2 separate regions of the Homo sapiens genome follow, and region 1 is linked to region 2. Evidence: promoter capture Hi-C in 16 types of primary human blood cells and fetal thymus (Javierre and others, 2016). All regions are on one chromosome and are shown on one strand. Each heading gives the region's core, a stretch centred on a gene start or on the middle of the fragment in contact. The rest is flanking DNA. Distances are from core to core; before and after follow the strand shown. Region 1 overlaps PLCB1 (phospholipase C beta 1). Region 2 holds the start of PLCB1 (phospholipase C beta 1).

Region 1 (3,837 bases), core at 793-3,292, 590 kb after region 2:
TTTTTGATTTCCAGGAGGAAAACAGCTTACCATGTCTGGCAAAGTATATGTTCCTGAGAATGATTTCAATTGTGTATAATTTCTGATCAGTGATTCTAAATAATTTTTAAACTCTCTTACTAATTGGATAGTCCATTTGCAAATGAATGTTTCCCAGTTAACATTTGACCCAAATATTACTACCAGAATTTTTAAAAGAAACTCATCTCCATGCATTCTCTCTTCTAAAAATGTGAGACAATATTAGATCACTCTACAGAGGCCCATTTTGTGCCAACACTGCATTATTGGTTTTCTTTTTCATTAAAAACTCTATCAAAGTAATATGTCATAGCTAATAATAGCAAAAGCAACATGAGATTGTAGTACCACTTGCCAGGCACTGTTCTAAGCTCCTTCACATAAATTAACTTATTTTTTAATCAAAAACCCCTATATGCTGTAGGAACTGATTTTATCCTAATTTTACAAATGAGTCAAGTGAGGCACAGAGCAATTAAGTAAGTTGCCCAAGGTTGCCCGGTTTCTAACTAGTGGACTTGGGATTCGAAATCAGGCAGGCTGGCTCTAGAACGCGAGCCATTAATCCCTGCACTATGCTTTCCTGCTTGTCTAAGACACATCAGGAGCCAAGAAGGGAGGGAGGGAAGAATGTTGATGAAGGAAAGCAGTTGTTTACCCACCCCTGCCCATTTCCACAAAGCAATCTTTTTATTATTATTATCAATTTTCCCTTCATTTGGTGGTCACCTACCTAACAATTTTCTTATTGTACAGTGAATTCTTAATTTACGAATCCGATGAGAACACATGGACACATAAAGGGACATGGGGCCTACCTGCGGGTGGAGGTGGGAGGAGGGAGAGGATCAGGAAAAATAACTAATGGATGCCAGGCTTAATACCCGGGTGACAAAATAATCTGCACAACAAACCCCAGTGACATAAGTTTATTTATATAAAAAAAAAAACCTGCACGTGTAGCCCTGAATTTAAAATAAATGTTAAAAAAAATTACTAACCTTAGACAACACCTATGGACACCCTGCAATGGAAGATGAGCTATAGCTCAGTGCTTCTCAAACTTTGATGGGCATTCCAATGACCTTAGTAAAATGCAGGATCTGAGTCTGAGGCCTGCAGAGGGGCTAAGATCAGGCATTTCTAAATGGAAAGGAGGGGGCAGGGGATAGGGAGTGATTATGTTGGGGCCATGCTGCCAGCCACCATTCAACCTCCCACCTCCCTTCCTCCCTCCCTTTTATAAAATGAGGTGTTGCTGTTGCCTTTCTCCTGTAATGAATTTTCATTTTGTAATTTTCAGAAAGGGAGGGATGATTTTCTGCATGCTTGAATCATGTTGTCATTTTCCTGGGAAAATAACTGATAATATAATGCTGACTCTGGAAATGTTTTCTTTTTTATTCCTACTTCCAGGGGACTGCTGGAAGTGAGGCTATGGCCACAGAAGAAATGTCTAATCTGGTGAACTATATTCAGCCAGTCAAGTTTGAGTCATTTGAAATTTCAAAAAGTAAGTTTTCCCTGGAGAAAAACCCCTCTTGCAGCATATAATGATTATATTTTAAATACGGAGTAATGGGACCAAAGAATGTTACCCTTAATAGAGAGATTTATGCTTTTGAAGTCTTAAATATATGTACATTTTGACTGCCTTGTTACTTTACACATATAATAAATATGCATGTATTGTAATATATAAAAATAACCATATGAGAAAGTATTCTATGGTGTTCTCCAAAAATATTTAATAGGGCTACAGGCCATACATGGCTATCGGAAAGACACATGACCAGAGTACAACTAATTGGGAATTGTACTTTGCTTTTTGTTCGCAACACACAGTGAGATCCATCTGTTACATAAGTGATAATGTTGAAATAAACTATCTACCTGTTTCCCAGAAGGGAAGCAGGCAGAGACTTGATGAACCCTGATAATTAGAAATAGAACCAATTTATCTATATTCCATTTGTCCATCACATGTATATATTTAGAAGAAAATGCATTAACTTCACATCACTTTGTGTTTTCCCTTTATTCAACTATACATCCATACTTGTGCAAAGAAAAATATCATCTTTACCCAGACAAAAGGGTTCTTTTATGAAAATGCCCCTTGTATTTGCATGAAGCGTAAGATGCTATCAGATTAAGGGAATCCTTGAAACTTACTAGCCACTTATAAGGGTGTACCCTTAAAAACAGAAATTTGCCTAAATGTACTAGCTTCTAATCAAGGATGGCTTTGCAGCTATATCAAAATCCAAGCCTCTACCAAACACGCTTGTTTATATTTGTATAATCTTACAAAAAGTCTTCACTTAGTGGTATATGCAACCTAGATCTCTACAACAAAGAATTCAACTTCCAAGAGTTTATATATAATGATTTCTCAACATTGAATTCGATGTCCTAATTTCTGATGTTTCTTACAAGTTGTTTTCTTTGAAACATCCTAGCGTAGTTATTTTTATATCACTGTAATTTCATTGGCTGCAATGAGTTTCTCTAACTCATTAGTTAAAAGTTCCAAGACAAGTAGCCAAGTGTGAGAAAGAGCCAATATATTTAGATTCTTCAGAACCTGGAAACAACAGCACCAGCTAGACTCACAAACAAGCACTTTTCTCCTTGTGTTTAATATCATTTTATAACCTTGAAAAAAGAATATTCAACATATTTTACCAAGTACCTATTAATGTTGACTGAATTTTAATTAATAGTTATGCTTAATTTAATAAGTCATATAAAGGTAGATTTATGATGGACCAAAATAAGAGAAGCCAAGGTTTGCCTTAGAGTGGATTGGAGAAGGTGAGAAGATGGATGACGAAGCCTGGAAATCATTAAGAAGAACGAGGTTTTAATTTCGAAAGAGAGGTCAAAGAGGGAAAATATCTCAAAGATAACTCAGTTTAAAAAAATTCAGAGCTATATAACCACCCTGTGCTATACTTATCTAAAATACTGCTCATAATTGTTGGTTTTTAGTGGGGATGAGGGTAGAGAAAGTGATTCTCGGTCTTTCTAAACTAAGATAACTTTGTTTTCTTTCTCTCACTCTAATTGGAGGCTTGAATTTCACTTTCAAAATGTTTCTCTTGTGTTTAGCACATCCTCCTCTCTGGCCTCTATTTTATTTTATACTTTATTAGTCCATTCTCGTGCTGCTATGAAGAAATATCCGAGACTGGGTAATTTGTAAAGAAAAGAGGTTTAGTTGACTCACAGTTCTGCATGGCTGGGGAGACCTCAGGAAACAACAATCATGAGGCGGAAGGCACCTCTTCACAGGGCAGCAGGAGAGAGAATGAGTACAGGCAAGGGAAATGCCAGATGCTTATAAAACCATCAGCTCTCATGAGACTAATGCATTATCATGAGAACAACACAGGGGAACCACGCCCATAATTCAATTACCCCCACTTGGTAACCCCCCCTTGACACTGTGGGTATTACAATTCAAGGAGATTTTGTGTGGGGACACACCCAAGCCATATCATGTATCTAATATGAAAATGAAGCCATGAGACTGGAAAATTTCCAAGGACCTTTCTGTTTTGAAAGACCATAATTCTGTCATATTAGTTATTTGAACCAAAAAAGTATATACAAACTGATAAGGTGGCAATGTGGGTATGAAAGAGATAGTCAGCACCTAGCACAAACATTCCCATGGTCTCTTTTGTTAAACCCCATATTGGCCCTAAGAAAAAAATCTGGGTGAATTTAGAACAAAAGATTCCCACGGGGTCCCTGCTCTTTTGACAAATTTTTTTATTGCCACACTATACTCATCTAGAATTCATTCAT
Region 2 (3,449 bases), core at 258-2,757:
AAGTTTTGATAAACACACACACGATATAGAACATTTCCGACATGCTCATCAGGTGCTCGTAGCCCTTCCCTGTCCATCTCTACCTATCCCTGGCCACAGGCAAGCTTTCTGTCAACATAGAATATCTTGCCTATTCTGCAATTCCTACACATGGAATCAGGCAGCATACAGTCTATCGTGTCCGGCTTCTTTTACAAAGCTTAAAGTCGCGATTCATCCCTGATCTTGCATGCCCACTCATTTTTATTGTGGAATAGTATTCCAATATTTGGGCATACCACAGTTTGTTTATCCATTCACCTGTTGATTGACATTTGCAGGCTACTAAGAAGAAAGTTCTTCACATCACTTTACAAGTCCCTGCAGACTTGAACGTTTTCATTTCTTTTGGACAAATACTTAGGAGTGGAATTTCTAGGTTGTATGATAAGTAAATATCTTACTTTATAAGAAACTATTCTCCAAAGTGGTTTTACTATTTTATATTCCCTCCAGCAATGAACAAGAGTTCCAAGCTATTTCTCTCTCCGCCCCCCCACCTCCCGCGTGTGTCTCTCTCTCTCTCTCTTTCTCTCTCTCACACTCACTCACTCTCTCTCTCCCTCTCCTCTCTCTCCTTAATAAAAAAAAAAAAAGAGTTCCAGTTGCTCCACATCCTTTCAAGCATTTGGTATTACCAGTCTTTAAAATTTTATCCATTCTGGTCCTCCTCTTTCCCTTCTTCCCTCCCTCCCTCCCTTTCTTTCTTGAATTGAGAAATGTTTGTGGAAGGAGTGAAGACAAACATTCCTGGACCTATGTTCCTAAATGAGCAAGTTTCTATTAATAAGACTCTCCCCCACCCGCCACACATCCTACACACTCAAGGAGAGGAGCGGGAGAGGGCACCCTCTTTCTTCCTCGGAAAATAAAACCTTTGCTTTCTTTAGGATGGGCTTTCTGTCTCGAAAGCACAACGTAACCGTTTGCCCGGGTTTCAAGATCAGCGCGCTGCAAACTCTCAGGCGCGGCCAGGTTTCCTCAAAGAGCCTCTCAACTGCGCTCTTCTCTGCTGATAAATGATAATTCTCTTCAAAAAGCTGGTTTGTGGCTGGCGCTGGAGAGCTCCAGCTAGAGCCAAAAGCCAGGGGTTGCCTCTTTGGTTCCTCCCGATGGGCCCCTTTTCCCAGCCAGTTGGGATCCAAAGACGCTCCGGAGCTCGAGCCCAAATTCCCAAGAAAACCCCAAAGAGCGTAAGGCTCCTGGGGACCCCTAGCACCTCTGCAACCAGGGCACGGGGCATGCTCAGAGCGAATGCGGGAGGCAGGCGTTGGCTGCAATGGGGCTCGGGAGCCAGGAGGTGCCGCTGCGTCCCCGCTTCCTGGCGCCTGACCCAGCGTGCAAAGTTGGGCTGGGAGCCGCGGGGGGAAGGAAGGACCCAGCGAGCGAGGGTGGCGGGGAAGGGGGGCGGGGGGGAGGAGGAGGGAGGAGGGAAAAGAGCGGTTAGGGGGGGCGCCGGGCGTGTGTCACTCGCTCTCTCCCTCTGTGTATAGAGGATGTGCTGAATGGTGCGCTTTGAGGCGGCGGCGGCGGAGGAGCAGAATCCGCCGCGACTGGCAGCCTCGGCTGACCGGCTCGGCTTCTCTTCGCCTTCCGAGGCTCCTCATCCACCGCGGGCTCCAGACCTCGCGTCCCGCCCGGGGCATGGCCGGGCGCTGCGCCCCCGCGCGCTCTGCCTGCTGAGCGGCGCCGGAGGGAGGTGCGGAGGCCGGGAGGCCGGGGAGGCCGGCGGGGAGCAGAGTCGAGCGCCTCCGGAGCAGAGAAAGGAGCCCGCGCCCCGCGCCCCGCGCCCCGCGCACGGTCCCCAGTCCCTGCCGCGCTCGCCCGGGCCGCCCGGAGCCCAGATGAGCCCAGATGGCCGGGGCTCAACCCGGAGTGCACGCCTTGCAACTCAAGCCCGTGTGCGTGTCCGACAGCCTCAAGAAGGGCACCAAATTCGTCAAGTGGGATGATGTAAGTATTGGGGCGGCCCGAGTCGGGGCGCTGGCTCGGGCACCGGGCAGGGCGGGCGTCGTGGGGGTGGGGCAAGGGGCGCGTTATGCAATGGGCGCACTGGGAGCGGGCAGGGGCAGCCTCGGGCGCACAGGTTGGCATCTGCCAAAGCGGATGTCCAAGGGCAGAAGCTTTGCGCGCGCTCCTGTTTCATCGGGCTTCAGTAGTTGCCATCCTTTCTGGGTCTGGCAGGCGCCCCCTGAGGGTCTTACATCTTTTGGGCCAGTGGAGAGGGAGGGGCAAGCTTTGCCTGGTGACAGGTCCTGAGAGTTCGGAAAGTAGGGAGTGTGAAGTTGGGACCAACTGGAAAGCGCCTGGTGTGAACAAATCGCGTCCCTCTCCGCCTGCGGACGCACCCCCTATTACCTCTTTTGCCCGATTTCAAGAAGGAAGGACCTGAAGTTCAAAACACTTTAGTGATTGCGAACCCTCTTGGCGCTTTTGTGGGAGCCAAGGCGGCGGAGGACACAACGGTCCAGCCAACAGGTGGTCGTTGATGCCAAACTTCAGCGCCTGGCTCCGGAGTGAGGGTCCCTGAAAAGGGCTGCGGGGACACATCTGGGGAGGGCGTGAACAGAATGGGGGCCCTTGAGGGGTCCTGGAGGGCTCATGGGCCTGCAGGCAAGTGGGGAGGGCTGACTTTTGAGAACTGAGCTGATTGGAGTCTTCTGCCTGAAATAGACAGGTTGAGAGTTTGCCCCACGATTTACCTGCACCGTTTGCCAGGTAGGGCAGAGCCTAGCCCAGCGCCGGGGTCTCTAATGCTTTACGAGCGGCCCAGACCCCAGGACTTCAAATGACTTCCCCTTCCCCTCTACCCCAGTTGTCTTCAAAACACGTAAATTAGTTATCCAGCTGAAAACATGCGAATCTTCGGATGGAGAACATTATGGTATCAGTTTTATGTCCTGGGTGTCATTCTAAAGGTTCGATAAGAAAAACCTACTGAAATAAACCCGAGTTGCCAGGCTCTAAGCAAATTTAAGTCCAAATGACTAATACATCTCTTAATCAGAAGGAATTATAGGAGAATGAGGCGTTCTTCTTGCCGAAAAGATTTTCCACCTAGTAAATTATAGCCTGTTATCCTCTAGGGTATTTTTCTTTAATCTTCTTAAGCCATTTTCCAGTGTCTGAAAACAATTTAAATATTCCAGGTAGTGAATCCAATTACTTAGCTGAGTGCGTCTGTGTCTATATTTTGTCCAGCTGGAAGCGCAAACGGAACTTGGAGTATGAACCACAGCTTCCTTGAAAGCTCGTGCCAATTATTAAATGCTGTAGGCAAGGATGTAAACATACATCTTTTTACCATGGGCTTCACACTTTTCTTCTTTCTGTTCCAGTCTAATTGTACTGAATGTTTCTGTAAATGGAATAGAATCTAAACAATAAATTCAGACGCAGATTAAATGCTT

What was found. Contacts are between HindIII fragments. The CHiCAGO score rates a contact against its expected background, and 5 or more counts as called.
Region 1: a fragment that was not itself captured here is called in contact with the fragment with the promoter of PLCB1 in region 2 in 4 of 17 cell types (neutrophils, M1 macrophages, M2 macrophages and 1 more); the score reaches 7.7 in neutrophils.

Annotation. Positions count from the first base shown.
Region 1 is chr20:8,723,219-8,727,055 of GRCh38, forward strand. PLCB1 (phospholipase C beta 1) reads left to right here. Exons shown (of 32, transcript NM_015192.4): 16 at 1,438-1,534. Among named protein-coding and RNA genes, the nearest start is that of RNU105B, 110 kb to the right of the region's middle. The HindIII fragment of the contact is 7,086 bases long and covers 1-3,837 here.
Region 2 is chr20:8,130,759-8,134,207 of GRCh38, forward strand. PLCB1 (phospholipase C beta 1) reads left to right here and starts at 1,508. Exons shown (of 32, transcript NM_015192.4): 1 at 1,508-1,992. The coding sequence starts at 1,894. RefSeq lists a silencer at 1,594-1,733. The HindIII fragment of the contact is 1,963 bases long and covers 198-2,160 here.